Regions from separate parts of the Homo sapiens genome. Here regions 2, 3, 4 and 5 are each linked to region 1. The links are contacts of gene promoters, found by promoter capture Hi-C in blood cells and fetal thymus (Javierre and others, 2016). All regions are on one chromosome and are shown on one strand. Each heading gives the region's core, a stretch centred on a gene start or on the middle of the fragment in contact. The rest is flanking DNA. Distances are from core to core; before and after follow the strand shown. Region 1 holds the start of VAV3 (vav guanine nucleotide exchange factor 3). Region 2 overlaps VAV3 (vav guanine nucleotide exchange factor 3). Region 3 overlaps VAV3 (vav guanine nucleotide exchange factor 3). Region 4 has its middle 20 kb from the start of LINC02785. Region 5 overlaps VAV3 (vav guanine nucleotide exchange factor 3).

Evidence for each region. Contacts are between HindIII fragments. The CHiCAGO score rates a contact against its expected background, and 5 or more counts as called.
Region 2: a contact is called between a fragment that was not itself captured here and the fragment with the promoter of VAV3 in region 1, in 4 of 17 cell types (total B cells, naive B cells, total CD8 T cells and 1 more). The highest score is 7.0, in total B cells.
Region 3: a contact is called between a fragment that was not itself captured here and the fragment with the promoter of VAV3 in region 1, in 14 of 17 cell types (naive B cells, total B cells, monocytes and 11 more). The highest score is 11.1, in naive B cells.
Region 4: a fragment that was not itself captured here is called in contact with the fragment with the promoter of VAV3 in region 1 in 12 of 17 cell types (activated CD4 T cells, naive CD4 T cells, megakaryocytes and 9 more); the score reaches 9.2 in activated CD4 T cells.
Region 5: a fragment that was not itself captured here is called in contact with the fragment with the promoter of VAV3 in region 1 in 12 of 17 cell types (monocytes, naive B cells, total B cells and 9 more); the score reaches 9.1 in monocytes.

The regions. Positions count from the first base shown.
Region 1 is chr1:107,963,261-107,966,610 of GRCh38, reverse strand. VAV3 (vav guanine nucleotide exchange factor 3) reads left to right here and starts at 1,431. Exons shown (of 27, transcript NM_006113.5): 1 at 1,431-1,945. The coding sequence starts at 1,742. It overlaps VAV3-AS1 (VAV3 antisense RNA 1), which reads right to left and starts at 2,168. Exons shown (of 3, transcript NR_046653.1): 1 at 2,107-2,168. RefSeq lists enhancers at 645-714, 650-944, 2,291-2,420. The HindIII fragment of the contact is 4,630 bases long and covers 1-2,150 here.
Region 2 is chr1:107,899,910-107,902,908 of GRCh38, reverse strand. The region is part of intron 1 of VAV3 (vav guanine nucleotide exchange factor 3); the gene reads left to right. Among named protein-coding and RNA genes, the nearest start is that of MIR7852, 4.2 kb to the right of the region's middle. The HindIII fragment of the contact is 1,959 bases long and covers 757-2,715 here.
Region 3 is chr1:107,859,542-107,862,729 of GRCh38, reverse strand. All of the region lies in intron 2 of VAV3 (vav guanine nucleotide exchange factor 3), which reads left to right. Among named protein-coding and RNA genes, the nearest start is that of MIR7852, 36 kb to the left of the region's middle. The HindIII fragment of the contact is 3,279 bases long and covers 1-3,093 here.
Region 4 is chr1:108,083,410-108,086,515 of GRCh38, reverse strand. No RefSeq gene overlaps it. Among named protein-coding and RNA genes, the nearest start is that of LINC02785, 20 kb to the right of the region's middle. The HindIII fragment of the contact is 6,284 bases long and covers 1-3,106 here.
Region 5 is chr1:107,881,405-107,884,515 of GRCh38, reverse strand. The region is part of intron 1 of VAV3 (vav guanine nucleotide exchange factor 3); the gene reads left to right. Among named protein-coding and RNA genes, the nearest start is that of MIR7852, 14 kb to the left of the region's middle. The HindIII fragment of the contact is 286 bases long and covers 1,646-1,931 here.

The sequences.
Region 1 (3,350 bases), core at 182-2,681:
TGGCCTGCTTATAAAGCATGGTTCGTAATAAAAAATTTGGGCTACAGAAATATAATACAATTAAATTATCCAAACTCCCATCTTTTTGTTTGTTTGTTTGTTTGTTTTTTGAGACAGAGTCTGGCTCTGTCGTCCAGGCTGGAGTGCAGTGGCTGGATCTCAGCTCACCGCAACCTCCGCCTCATGGGTTCAAGCGATTCTCCTACCTCAGCCTCCCGAGCAGCTGGGACTACAGGTGCGTGCCACCACGCCCGGCCAATTTTTTGTATTTTTAGTAGAGACGGGTTTTCACCGTGTTAGCCAGGATGGTCTCGATCTCCTGACCTCGTGATCCGCCCGCCTCGGCCTCCCAAAGTGCTGGGATTACAGGCGTGAGCCACCGCGCCCGGCCTATTTTCTAATTTTAAGTGAATGCATCTCAAAAGGGTGACGAAGGACCACATTCCTATCGAACAGCAATAATTCACTGTGGCAATATCTTGCCACAAATAATTTAAACATTAATTGTGGTTTTGAGGGGCAGTGTGCAGTGGGAGTAAAAGGGGTAGGGTTTAGAGTCTCCAAAAGATTTACTTAAGAAACACGAATGCACTGCTTGTGCACTGCGCAAAAGTTCTGGGGTCAAGTTCCAACTTTCACTAAGGATCCCAGAACAGCCCGGCAGGAGCTGCCCAGGGCTAACGCGCTTTGCTCTCAAACCCGGCCGCCAGTCGCCGACGCATGCGCAGTCTAGCACCGTGGCACAGGCCTTTCTCAAGCAGGTTTTTGTGGGGTCAGCAAAAGGGCCAGAACAGCAACGGCAAACAGTTCCGAGCCTGACAGTGCAGGGGCAAACCAGCTCCAAGTGAAAATCACCTCGCGAGGAAATAGGCTCAGGGATCGGGGCGGTTTCCGCAGGCGTCTCCACACACGCACTCTCACTCACTTTGAGGGTGCCAAAACACCACTAGGGGCAACTAGGAGGAATAGGCTGAGGAATCAGCTATAGAGAATGGAGGGGATAGAGCTGCAAGGGGCGAGGGGGCGACGATCTCTAAAACTTTCAGCGCCGTGCTCTACTGATGCTCTAGGCACTTTTTTCATTGCTCTGGGGAGTCTGGGTGCCCCAATTAATCCGTCGCTCCTTTGAGCATTTGTTGTTTAGGGGGTCCTGGGGGACCCCATCGTATTACAGTATTCAGCCACACTCCCCGCAAAGCCGGGAAGCCGCCCCGAGAGAAGACCCCAGGACGCCGGGGGCTGCGTGAGCCCCGCAAGGCTGCAGGCGGGGGCGCGGGATCCCCTTTCTGGCCGCCGCCCCCCTCCGCCGGCCCCTCCCCCGCGCCCCGCCCTCGGCCACAGACCCCAGCCCCGGCCGCCGGCGCGCTCCCACCCGCGCGTCTGGGGACTTGCGGACCGCAGCGAGACCGGCCGGCGTGCTGGGCATGCTCAGTGGCGGGCCGGGCGCTGGAGTCGGAAGCCTGTGCGCGGCAGCCGCCGCCGAGCCGGCCGGGGCGCACGGAGAGCGCGCGGGACTCGCTGCAGCGGCGGCCGGGTCGCGGCGCACCCGGGCCGGGACCGGAGCCGAGCCTAGCGCGGCGCCCGCGACCCGTCAGCCGCGGCTCCTGCTCCCTCGATCCCGCGCGGGGAAAGGGCCGGCGGCTGTTGGCGTCGGCGGGGCGCGGAGGAACCGCGGCGGCGGCGGCGGCGGCCGCATCCTTGCCGCCCGCCCCGGCCCAGCCGCGTCCCGGAGCCGTCGGGCATGGAGCCGTGGAAGCAGTGCGCGCAGTGGCTCATCCATTGCAAGGTGCTGCCCACCAACCACCGGGTGACCTGGGACTCGGCTCAGGTGTTCGACCTTGCGCAGACCCTCCGCGATGGAGTCCTGCTCTGCCAGCTGCTTAACAACCTCCGGGCGCACTCCATCAACCTGAAGGAGATCAACCTGAGGCCGCAGATGTCCCAGGTGAGGAGGCCGGCACGGGCGCCCCGCCTCCAGCCGGCAGCTCCCATTAATCATGCGGCTAATTTCTTTGTGTAAATGCAAACGTCTAGGTGCGCTGAGCTTGCCCTGCTTCCCAGCCTTCTGCTTTGGGACCACTTCGGCACCACTTTGGCGTTTCCTACCTTGGCTTGAAATGGTTTAGCTCCTCAAGCTGAATGCGAAAGCTTTGCGTCCGGAGATGGTGTGAGGATTTCGTAAAGGCTTTCTGTGAGGCGGGAAAGAAATAAGTTGTCTTAGGGTGCCCTTCACCTACTCTGCGTGTGTGTGGCGCGACAAAGGGAATTTGATCAAGCTCTTCTATAATAACGAAGGGGAGGGACGAAACGAGGTGATGGGGTAATTTGCCTTTAGTCTCTTCTTTTGCTTTGCGTCTTGTACTCATGTTTTCCTAAAAGAGGAACCATGACATACATGAGGACTCGAGGAAGTGAAGGGCGTTTGGTCCCGTTATCTGTCCAGGAGTGACATTGGTCAAAGGGAAGAACAGGGAGCAGAACCCGGAGGCCGCCCCCAGGGCCCCTGAGCTGGTGGCCAGCCGGCAAGCTCCCGTTTACAGCTCTTCCTAAGCCATGTGAGAAGGAGCGAGTCCAGCCTCTCTCAGCAGCGACAGGAAATGAGAAGTTTCACTAGAGATTCCGCTTTCCTTCCTGCAGTGCCCTGCTCAGGTGCTGTGGTGCCGGTCGGCTCCTGGGGCTGGAGCTGCCTCTTTGAGGGTTAAGCCAGACACCTCTGGAAGGTTGGGTGCACCCTAGAGTCAGCTCAAAAGTCACAGTTCAGTGGAAGAGTAGTTTATTTGTCCTGTCGGAAAATTTTTGTACAGAAGGATGTTAAACTCGGTTCAGAGCCTCTTTCTCTTTCAGAATGTTAAAACAAAACAAAAAACCAAACTGCTTTCAACTTAAAAGGGAGAGGACAGAGCCCTCTCCCTGACACATTTCAGCACTAATCCTCTATGACGCAGAGCCTCAGCTACTTAGCAACCAGAGCAGCGCCTTTTAAGAAGGAACGGACTTTATATGATTTAATAAGTATGTATTTAAAGTTAGAGCACACACAGTCATCTGTGATTCTTGGTGTCAGTGTTTCATCAGGGTCCCCTGCACTTCAGATTCTGCATTCCTTGCCTGTTTGCCTTCAACCTGCTGGTGGGCAGTCCCTAAGAAAGAACAGGCATGGAAGTGGGGAGAGCCATACGTATTTAAAAGTGAGGTAAATTATTTTATACCCCCATAAACATGCATGGTGATTGCTACCTCTCGGTACCCCTTCAGAGTTGTCTCAACTCTGGAAATTCCTTTGAGGGGTTTGGCAGACTTTTCTATTATGGTGGGAGCTGCAGTTAGCTACTCTCACACATCCCCATTTT
Region 2 (2,999 bases), core at 487-2,986, 64 kb after region 1:
TCAGTATCCATGGCTGGGAAATTATTAGGTTCTCTATGTGTTATGGCAAATACGGGTATGGATATAGATAAATGAGTTGCCTTATATCAAGAGACTGCACAAATAAGTCTGTAAGCTTTTTTTTTAATTCTTTAATTTTATTTGTATCCTACTGGCCTTCGCTCTCCTTCCCCTCTCTTGTTGATACATAGATATGATTTATATCCTCATGGCAGGTGTCATACTTTGTATAACTTCATAAATATTTTCTTAAAGGTTTAAACATGTAGGACCTCAGGTTATTCTAAAATACGTAAAAGAACAAAACAAAATCATAAATCAATGTAAAGAATAAATGCATATTATGGAGAAAATTACCTAAAAAACTCCTACATAAGACTATCTAGCGGTACTTAGGTGCATGGCAATAGTGAAAGGGCAGAAAACAGGGGATGGTACCAAAAATAGATGCGTTATTCTTCCAGAATGTGAAACATTATATAATTGCTTACAAAGCAATCATCATATGTAGACAAATGACACAGAATGGAAGATGAATAAAGTCAATGTAAGATTAAAAAAAATTGAAACAATTACATCTCCATCTGTTACACTGATAATGTAAAAAGATATTGTACATTCAATCACAGATGGCCTTTTAATCACTTTAGAAACTTAGCACAGAAAACTAGGCAAAGTCTGTAGAGACCCTTGGTCTAGCCTCCTGTCCTTTAGCTTGGAAAGTTAGAATTCATCTTTAGCAGAAGTTCTTAAGCTTTCTTAGTTTAAGGCATGCTTAATATTTCTCTGAATTTTTTTTTATTTTTTTATTTTGCAGGCCAAAACAATAACAGTTTTTGTTGTTGTTTTTTTTGTTTTTTTTTTTGAGATGGAGTTTTGTTCTTGTAGTCAAGGCCAGAGTGCAGTGGCACAATCTTGGCTAACTGCAACCTCCGCCTCCTGGGTTCAAGCGATTCTCCTCCCTCAGCCTCCCGAGTAGCTGGGATTACAGGTGCATGCCACCATGCGTGGCTAATTTTTGTATTTTTAGTAGAGACGGGGTTTCACCATGTTGGCCAGGCTGATCTCGAACTGCTGACCTCAGGTGATCCACCCGCCTTGGCCTCCCAAAGTGCTGGGATTACAGGCGTGAACCACCCTCTCCAGCCCAGTTTTGTTTTTAAGTAGTTATCTCTAAGCAATTTAATAAATATTTATGTCCCAACAACATAGTAGTTGGTTGAAAGAAAATAATACAAGTACATTGAAAGGAAAAATATTTTTATTTTTATTTTATTCTTAAATACCCACAATTATTACTAATGGGATGTGTGTGCCTGTTGGGCACTACATAACTTCTCAAATCTTGGAATAAGATTACACACCACCACACCCTCATTTTTTGTTTTACATTGATTGTTGTACCATGTTTAGTTGTTAACCACTGCATCTGCTGAATATCCAGCTTCACAAAGATACACCATTAAAAGGAACTTAGTGGGATCTAATGTTAAAACTACACAGTAATTTGAGCTAGTAATTCATGCAGTATCAGATGCTGAATATTCTTGTGATTTTTTTGGTGAAAATTTAAAATATCCTGCAGTGTCTCTGAGTTTGCTGTGGTGTTCCAGGATACCTTGGTGTATAATTTAGGAACCACCAACCAATAATCTTAAACTAGTAGGTTATGGGACACAGGCCAGAAATTATTTGCTTCCTAGTGCTTTTTAATCACATAGGTAAATTGTCAGCTACAATACCTGGGACATAGCAGCTCCCCAGCTGGTGTAAATTATTTTTCCCTTGCTATACTGTCAGCATTTATAGCCATATCTTTCCATGGTGGTCCGATTTATATTTACAGTCCAGTAATCTTTAGTAAGTACAGTCTGGCATATCTTATTGCCAATTGTTTGATTTTATGTGGAAGTGGGTGACACAGTTATTACTGAGTCTCTTTATAAAAATCTTATTTACGTAAAATATACAAGGTAAGGAAATGCATTCATTAACAACTGAAGACTGAGTGAGTAAAAAAATAACTTGTGGACACTATTTTCTTGTATAATTGAAAATTATGCACCACTACCACCACTACCACAAATAGTTTTGTATAAGATATGTCTGTTAAGTTCAGAGACCACAAAGTCCCTATTGTGATGCAATAACCTCGGTTAACTGAGCATATCTTCTCCATGTCCTGGTGAGGATAGCTATTTCAGAAGATCATTTATAGGACCATTTACAAAAATACAGTATCAATCACACTGCTTATTTTAGCATGCTTCAGTTGTGGTTTACAGGCAGTGATCCCTCTGTAAATGGACTGCACTTATCAACATGCTCTCATGGTTTACAATGATCTTGACAGCAGATTTAGTGGATTGAATATGGGTCTGATATGGTATGGCCTTCTCAAAGTCTAGACTTTATAAGGTGTAACATTTCACTTTGCACGTGGAAGAGAAACTTCTCATGTTCTCCCTGTTAAGAGTTGAAGGCCTAAAAACAATTTGCAAGTACTGTGTTGATGATTTAGTTATTAGCACATTTTCCAAAAGCATGTAGAGAAAATATCAAATTTGCATGCAGTGGTAAGGGGTGCATAAAGGTAACTTCCTCCTGACGTGTGGCTACAAAGTATACTATGGATATACTTTGCGGCTACACTGTACCACGTTTTCACTTCTCATATCCTGTTAATTTTCAGTAGGTTTCCTAAGTGTCGAAGCTTGTAGTCTATGTAGCAAATGTATTTCTATCCATGTGTAACTGTTTCAAATTATGGAAAATATCACACCTTGAGCCTTGAGCTTTACTTTGTAATGTGTTTAGTGCAGGATTGAGTTCCTTGAAAAGTGAAGAAGAAGAGATAATTTTAGTGAGCTACAAATGCCTGCTGATATATATTAAGTATGCTGAAAGTGTATGAATATAAAAAAAGGAATTTTATGGAGAAAGAATAGTTGAAAGACCTAAGGAGATTCTTGAAGGGGTCAGGTTTCAGGAAACTAAAG
Region 3 (3,188 bases), core at 205-2,704, 100 kb after region 1:
CTGAGCTGTGTTCAGAAATCCTTGACCTTGTCACATTGGCTTAAGGGTAAGATGTAGTTTATCCAAGTTACATATGGAGGTCATTGAGTCTTCATTTGCTTACAATAAATTGTAAATATGATGGATGAGAAATATGTAAGGAGAATTGGTTAATTCCAGTGGGTGATATATTAATAGTCAATTTACTTGTCTACACAAACAACAGTGAGGCAGAACTCTTGGCCTTTGACTGTTGTGCCTGTGTATTTCCTATCAACAAGATCTCCTAGAAAAGGAGGATGGCACTTTCCATGTTTATTTTCTGTGTCTTCTTTTTTTTAATGGCTTATGCACATCTGTAGGAATAAAGGAGGCTGGTGTTTGCTTCCCATGCTCAGTGAGAGGGGTAGTGTGGGGGTGGAACTGGCTGAATGCTCTCATTTGCACAGGATTAGGCAGAGGAAGTGTGCACCAGTAGTGGTATGAGCACCAAACAACTACAGGAAACAATGCTTGGCAGTCACTGCAGCTGTGTGGAGTCCGGCTGCGCAGGCTTCCTCTGGATAGAGTTTAGTTTCTGAGTCACTTGTTTTCCACTTAAAGCACCTGTGTCTTTGGAGAACTCCATTGAAGAAATATTAGTTGAATATGGGCCTTTCTCTGGTTTGCCTCAATGCCAATTATAATGCTCTTTGGACATGAAAAGTTCTGCTAAATCAACATAGTGTCTGAGGACCAGTGGTGTCAGGACAGGCCAGTGCGTAGAGCAGTCAGAAATCATTAGGTTAGAAAAATGAATGGTTTTTAAATCTTTCAGAACACTCCCCACTGAAGTATGTATGCATGTGTATACACAATTAATTTTGCACAGAGATGTGCTTGGTGACCTTAGGTATAGGCTTTACCTTGCTACTCTCATTCTTTGTTTCTGTGTAGAGGAAATGAAGGATGCTGCTTGCTGCTTCTGAGTAAGCAGGTGCCTTATAGATTGTGTGCTGAATCATTTACACTCTTTGAGTTGTCTTTTAAAGTAGCTGCATATTTATAATTCATCTTAGACAAGATGATCAATCTAGAATGGTTATATTCGGATATGGGTGGACACTGGACACTATTTTTATTGGTCAGTCTAGGTCAAATTTTAATGATGATTGATAGCATTGGATATGGATTGGGTAGAGTAATAAAAACATACATAGAAGGCTAGATTCATGTTAGAATTAGCTATGCATCTGCTCCTTATATCTATAAAGTTTAACAAGGATTCTTTACCAAAATCACTGCTGATTTTTCCTAATAGCCTTAGGCTTTTGGGAAGAAGCAGCAGAAAAATTAGAATTTATTGGCTGCCAGATGATAAAGTACAGTTTCTTGGGGAGATAGCAATTTAGAATTTTAGCAAAGTTACTATGAAGTATAATGATGAAAGGGAGATGATATTAATTAGCGTTGGCTTTTACAAAAAAATTGTTGAAGTATTTTTAGCTTTGTTTACTTGGAATTTGGTCAGTTGACTGCACCCAAGATTCTCCAAATACATAGACGTGTAGAAAGATAAGCAATCAAAAGCATATATTCCTTTTTTTCTATACTGTTTTGGATTCATGGTTGGAATCCCTTCTGCAGTATTTGAACAATTCCTAGAGATGTAACAGAAATTTCTTAAGTAGCAACAGTTCCAATTATGGATCCAGTTATGGATAATGAATTATCTAGAGATTCATCACTAATAATAAAGCATAATCTATCTTTCTAAATTTTCTTCCATTGGTTTTAGAGCAGCACAGAATTAATTTCTACACCTTCTGTAGGACAATCGTTCAAATATTTGAAGATTGTTATGTTTCTGTAAGTCTTTTCTTCTTTGTTGTCTTCTTTTTTTGTAAAAGATAGGGTCTCACTGTGTTGCCCAGGCTGGACTCAAAGTCCTGGGCACAAGCAGTCCTTGTGCCTCAGCCTCCTGAGTAGCCGGGACTGCAAGTGCACGCCACTGTGCTTGGCTTCTCTTCTTAAAATGAAATAAACGTCGTCTCCTCAGTTCTTTCTTTTTTGATTATTTCTTTCTAACTTCTGTGGGTAATTTGAAATGTCTGATTAGGATAACACATATGAAACAGCACAGTTAAAGGTTAAGAAATTTAAAATCGAAGGAGAGAATAGAAGCCATTTAAAGAAAGGGACACTATCATCATACCAAGTGGTTTGAGGATTACAGTGATCTCTCAGCAGCCCTGAAGTCAAGTAAAAAAGAAACCCAATAGGTTAATACAGAAATGAGTTCATGAACTAGCTTAAAGCCTTTGTTCCCAGTGGTAATTTGGAAAATGCTAAATTAAAAGCCCAAGAACTTAAATTATTATAGAGATAACCAAACATATAAAACCTAGAAAACTACTACAATCACCGCTCATATATCTACTATTGAAAAATTATCATTTCTGTCTCTACAAAAAAATACAAAAATTAGCCAGGTGTGGTGCCATGCATGTGTAGTCCCAGGTACTTGGAAGATTGAGGTAGGAGGATGGCTTGAGTCAAGAATGTGGAGGCTGCAGTGAGTCGAGATCATGCCACTGCATTCTCGCCTGGGTGATAGAGTGAGACTCCCTGTCAAAAACAAAAACTAACATTTGACCATATTTGATTCATCTACTATCTATTATAAATACTTATATACCGCTATTTTTGCTGAACAATTTAAAAGTAAATATAGATAGGCATCATGACATTTGTCCCCTAAATACTTCAAATGGTACAGCCGTCAAAATAAGGATATTTTTCTATATAACCATAATATCTTTATCACATATAACAAAGTGAATAATACTTCCCTGGTATTATTTAATATCCAGATATTTAAAATATCAAATTTTACTAGTTTTCTCCACAATGGATTTTATAGCTAGTTTCTTTGAATTTGACATGATTGAATAAAGGTTCAGACATTACTTTTGGTTGTCATGTCTTCATGAGTCTAAGAAAAATGTTTTCTTTAGCAGTTTTATAAATATCTTGATTTGAATTTAATTTTCTGATGATCTACCAAAGGTGATTATCATTTTTGATGTATTTATATTGAATTTATACTGCTCCTCTTTGAGTTTGAATAAAGCTTTAGTTTTCTGTAATTTAGGGGATTTTTAAAAGCCTTGGCTTGCATTCAGTGTGGAAGGGACTCAGTAAATATTTTTGTTAAGATTTAAATAAGT
Region 4 (3,106 bases), core at 68-2,567, 120 kb before region 1:
CAGTTTCTTTTCCCACACTTCAAAATAAAAGTTTCCAAGATTTAAACAAGGTGTTCCAGTTGTGACAGCTTTAGGAGAGGAAGCAGGTTCTGTCTTTTGGCAGGATCTGCACTCAGGACGAGGACAAGAAAAAAAATCCAGAAAGTCCCTAGCCTCTCACCTGCAGTATTGGGCAAGTACTTTAGATGGGCTGAGGTTGTACTCCATTCGTGGGCCACCCCTTACACATCCATCCCCAATCCAGGCATGCAATTGCTGCCGTAACCATCTCTTCCTTATCCCTACCCCTTCTTCAGGAGATTCCACCTTCCCATACCCCAAGTAGACAGAAGCATTTGGACTTGGGCATGGAATCCCAGTCCACATAATGCTTACAAGGGGAGGGGCTCAGGGGACTATCATAAGATGATTTCGGAATTATGGTCGCTTGTCACAATTAAGCCCTCCAGAATACCAGGCTAAATTTGCCTTTTTGTTTCTTTTGAAACTCTTATAAGTAAAAATTTCAAAGCAGTTTTTAATGTCCCTTTAATTTCAGTTTCACTGGCACCCTTTTCTGAGTGCATCCATACTTTTTTCTGTACAATAACAGTGCAGGCCAAACATCAGATAATTTTTGTTCTAGATATAGTACGTAGTCTGTGGGGCAAGTGTGTACTGGAGAAAGATTCATCATCATTCTGGACAGGCTGTCCACTATTTCTCCCCTTCCCCCTGCACCATCCCCCATGCAAGTATAACTAGTGTAGATAGGCAAGTTTCCCTAGACTTGGCCATGCTTACATTGACACTTATGACATCCAGACCTCTCTTTAGCCAAATTAGCAGGAAGGCCAGCTTTTCCCAGCCTCTTTCTTCCACTGGTGTTTCTGAGAATTGCAGAGGCCACTCATTTATTCCTAACAGTTGTCCTGATCTTTGTATCTGTAGGCAGTGTTGGAACTCAGACACCTTCTTGAGGCCACCACTGGTCACGGGGCCAGTTCCCCAGAGAGTTTATCACTAGCTGGGAATAGCTGGCTCTGAAGTTGCAGAACAAAAATGTTGATGTTGTCTATTAATTCCGAGATTCAAATGTCACTCTCACAGGGTGAGAGTGGCTCTTTCTCGAAAGCAAAGCTGTTTGTGCTCCAGTGAGTCTGGTGTCAATGGCGAAGTGGCCCTTGCCCCGACCACTGGGACAAGCTGGTATCACTGCCAACTTTGCAGAGGCCCTGGCATCCCCTCAGGGATCTGGACAGCTGGACCCCACCTCCTGCTGGCCCTATTACTTGCTGCATCGACCACCATTGCTGGGGCAGGCGACAGTGTTGGGACATCTAGAATGAAGGAGTACTTGTCTGACTTACTTTCTGAGCTTCACAGAAATAGGCCCTGGCCCCTGAGGGCCAAAGCTCTTCTGATACAAATCTGTCTCCAGGACAGCTGAGTTGGGGAGAGTTCTGAGAGAGGCCACTATCCTGACCTAGAACCAGGCTCCCTTTGATCCTTAACCCTGAGGCCAAGACCTGTCTACTACTCCTGATTCCTCCTCCCCACAGGGGGAATTCCATTCAGAATTCTCACTACTCTTTTGGTCTGCCCTCTCACTCCAATCCTTCAGACAATTTACAAAAACTTTGAATCTCACAAGTATTTGGGATTTTCTAAAAGTCTTTTCTCTCTTTCTCGATTTAGGGCGCATAAATACTGTGGCCAGAGACTCTGTAATTCTCAAGCTGAAATGCAAATAGGTATATGGTGAGGGGCCTGCAAATCCACCAGCCTCCTGAATCAGGGCCAGCACTTGCCCAGGAAAGCATTTTGTACTCTATGGTAATAATTCATTTAAAAATAAAATTCGGATCATACTAAATCATCTCTTTTATAACCTTCATGTTTTTCCTTAACATCACGAACATCTTTTTATAACAATAAATATTTTATGGCATCATTTCATAGCTGCATGGTATATGTTGCTGATTCTCTATTATGAGATATTTATTTCCAGTTTTGCCACTATCATGAATAATGATGAGGTGAATATCTTACTATAAGCAGCTTTGTGTACAGTGATGATTTCTGTAGGGTAATTTCCTACAAGTGGAATTTACTGGTTTAAAGGGCACTCTGGTTTACACCAACACCAGCAGCCTCTGCGGCTTTGCAAAGGGTTGTCAATAGTTACCTAAAATAATTCAGAAGATGTTCTCCTGTGGCTGTTCTTTTAAATGGTGTGTAAGAGAACACAATCAAGGCTTAGAATTGCTTGAACACTCTACTTTTGAGCCCCTGAATGTCACATTAGATAGGACAGTTTAGTTTTCTAAACTGTTTTTTGTTTTCTCTTAAAATATCTTTTATTAAATATATTTTTCATATTTCCTTTTCAGCAAAACATAATGATAGCTATAATACTAATAATTGCCAGGAAGGGTTTTCCCTAATCCTCTGAGTATTTGGAGGTCAAAGGAAGAGCTTTTATATCCTTTCAAAAGAACAGTAAATATGGTGGGGTGAGGGTGGGGACAGAGTTGTATCTCAAAGGCCCTCCTGTTTCAGAGGAGATGCTATAGAGAGGTTAGAAATTATTTACCAGGGGACGTAGGGTCATTTTCCCAACATTATCACATCCTTAAGAAGAATTCTGTGTCTTACCCATGAGAGATGTTTGTCATTTTGATTTTTTGGTTATTACCTGGGACCCTTTTTTTTTTTTAACCTTCTTAAAGCATCCTATGGTATTTTGGCTCTAGACTTGTGACATTTTGTCTTCTTTCCTAAAGGCACAGGGAGAGTTAGGGAGCCATCTGTGCTTGCCCTCAGTACTGTGTTTAAGAGATAAATAAGCAATTACTTCTCTCCTCAGGCAAGCTCTTTTGTTTGTCAGGAAGTCTCTGTCTTGATCCTGTCTCAGTAAACAGAAAAAGATATGTAGCAATTCCACAGCCATAGAAGACTGTGGCTGGCTTCAGACTACATTCATAGAAATACAACATATGGACTGATTAAAGTACAATCCCATTGTACTCTGCATATCTTCATTCTGCAAACATTTCCTATGTATTACGCAGTGGACACTGGGCCACATGTTAGGATTCAGGGCTAAAAAGACAGTCCCTACACT
Region 5 (3,111 bases), core at 539-3,038, 82 kb after region 1:
TGAACTGAGATTGCACCACTGCACTCCAGCCTGGGTGACAGAGCAAGAAAGAACCTGTCTCAAAATAATAATAATAATAATAATAATAATAATAATAATAATAATAATAAATAATTTATTTTTAATTTTGGGGGTACATAGTAGGTGTATATATTTATGGGGTACATGAGCTATTTTGGTACAGGCATGTAGTGTGTAATAATCACATTATGGAAAATTAGGTATCTGTCCCCTCAAACATTTATCCTTTGTGATATAAACAACCCAATTGTACTCTTCTAGTTATTTTAATATGTACAGTTAAATTATTATTGACTATAGTCTGCCTGTTGTACAAATACTAGGTCTTATTCTTTTTAACTTTTTTTTTTTTTTTAAACTGGGCCCCATCTCTGGGTTGCTTTGAGCTAGCTGTCTTCTGGCTAACAAAATAGTTGAGTGCTACTTTCTTTCACCAAAGGCAGCGACATGCACCACTTTCATTAGCAGGTTAATTAACTTAGGAAAATAGATGATCCAGGCTAACTTTGACCTCTGCACTTCCAAGGTATTCAGTTTTTTAGTGCAAAGACTAAAAACACAAAAGGAGGAGTAAAGATGCTGCTTGTCTTCCTTTTGTATGTCCAGGGACTAATGCAGGTGTTGACAGAAAAACCTTTGAAACTGAGTTTCTAAGTCTAAGTTTCTGCCAAGGGAGAGGGGTGCAGTGCTTCCTCTTATAAGGACAAGAGCTGTTGAAAGCAGCAGAGGGCTTGTGTGTGTGTGTTATGGTGACTGCTGGCCAAGGGCCCCTGAAAATCAGTTGGCAGCTTCCCATTGAACACACACCAGAGGCAGGAAACACAGACTAAAGATCATGCTTAAGAATGTAATTGCCTAATAATTTAAAATCTTTATTGATATTATTTATAAATATTAATATAACTTCTAAAAATGTTCTTAGGTAAGTTTAAAAAGACACATTGCTACATTAACATTGAAATAAGAAGATATGATGACAATTTAATGTAAAATTTTACTGAGTTCCCTGACTACTAAGGAATCGTTGCATTTAATTTTTCCTAGAGATAAACTGCATCAGGATTCATTCATCAATTTATTTGAAAACATGTATGTGCTATAAAAGCTTTGGGATACAAAGACAATATAGATGTATTCTTTACTCTCAAATATTTACTATTTCTTAGGGCACTAGGTAGTCAGACAGATATATTATAGTTAAGCACAGTTATTACCATAACAGATGTGAGCCGGGTGCTGCAGAGCAAAGAGGGTGCATGTGTTTTTACAATTTAGCCCTGCATTTATGAGCTTAGCCATTTCAATATAATTACATATAACTCATGAAAGTACATTATCATTGAATACTGTGAAAAAAAACCTGTTAACTTTAAATGGTAAATTACTGTATTTTTGAACGAATGACTTAAAAAATTACCCATTAGAAATGAGTTGTGGCCTGGACAATAATCAAAACAGAAATATTGGCTTTTAAATTGCTGAGAATAGGGAGGTTTTGGTTTAGTGAACTGATGACAAGATTACAGCTAAGGAACAACCCTTCTCCATTTATGTCCTCTCTGCATGTCCTTTAGGGTCATCATTTACTGTGATATTAGCATCAGTATGAAAATAATTTGAAGCTTCATATTGTGCAGTCCTAAACTGATACCACATGTAGCATACTTATTTTGTAATTCAGGGGATATTTGAAGGTATGATTTCTTAGAATGAGGATGATGATGCCCCTTCTGTTGGGACCCACTGATACACGGGGGAAAAGGACAAATAAGGTCCTCATACAAATAAAAATTATTCTTTTATTAAATTTCTAGGAGATGTAAGATTTAGCTCACCTAATTTTAAAAGAGAGATATAGAGAAGATATGGTGAAAGGGACAGAAATAGGGAACTCCAGTAAGAGAGAAGCTTGATATTATTATATTCCTTACACCTCTTCCTCCTTACCAGTTAAAAAAAAGGATGATCTGAGACCTTTGGAGAGGTATAGAGGAGGAGTTATGATGAGAAGAGAAGGAGAATTCTTCTTGTACCTTAATGTTTGTAAATCGGTTTCATGGTCGTCTCTTCTGTGCCTTTCGAAACTGCCAATCATCTTATTATAATGGCCACTCATAATTTGAATTATGCCAGACCCTCAAATTCAGGGCCGATCTTTCAATAGCAAGTGTCCTACTGAGAACTTCTTTATTCTGAGATGCTGAGAGCTTCTTTCTTCAACACACAGGTTGGCTCTGGGTGGTCCTTGCCTCATCAAATATAAGTTAGAAAATCTACATTGTGTGAAGGTCTATTAGCACTCACCGACCTTCTCATGAAATGTCATTTCTCATTTGGGACTGAAATAACTCATCTCACAATAAGCTGTAGAGATTTTTCCTCTTCCATTGCCTCAGTTAACACCACTAGTCCATTATTCCTAGCAACTTTGGAGAAGTCGGTGTTTATTTTTTCAAATAAAAAGGGAAGCCATCCTGTTTGCATTCATATCTTTGAGAAAAGTCAAGATGGCTTTTACACATAGAGAAAAAGGAAACCATACACTTTTAAGGGGTAGAGGAAAAGGAGCGATTCAGAGTTTTGTAGTGAACTTTAGCAGTTTGACCTTCAAATGTTTCCTTTTTTAAGCGTCAATATTGCTAACATTAAAGTGGTAACAGGAGGCTGCACCTTGAAAAGCCACTCATGCCTTGTCTGTTGTGGTAGCTACCTGGTTATGAAACATTTTCTAATCCAGAGAGCTTTGGCCTGATTTATAATTTTAGGATGTTTTAGACCTTGATGGTGTTAAACTTTCTTCTTCGGAAGTTATGTGCATTGATATTGAGTGCTTTTCTACCATTTTCCTTCCTCACCTTGAAATAAGCGAGCTATTCATGCCCTTCTGAAGAGGGAGAGAGGCTACGCATGGTTGTTGAAGACACATGGCTTTGTTGTTAGAATACATCACTTTTCACTGGATATACCTGAGAGAGAGGCTAGGCAGCATCTAATTACTGGGAGTTTTTATATGTGAAGACAAGAATTAACTGACTCCCTGGCCTCCTTTTCACATACTATGTCCCCCAATTTGCTAAGTTACCATTTTCA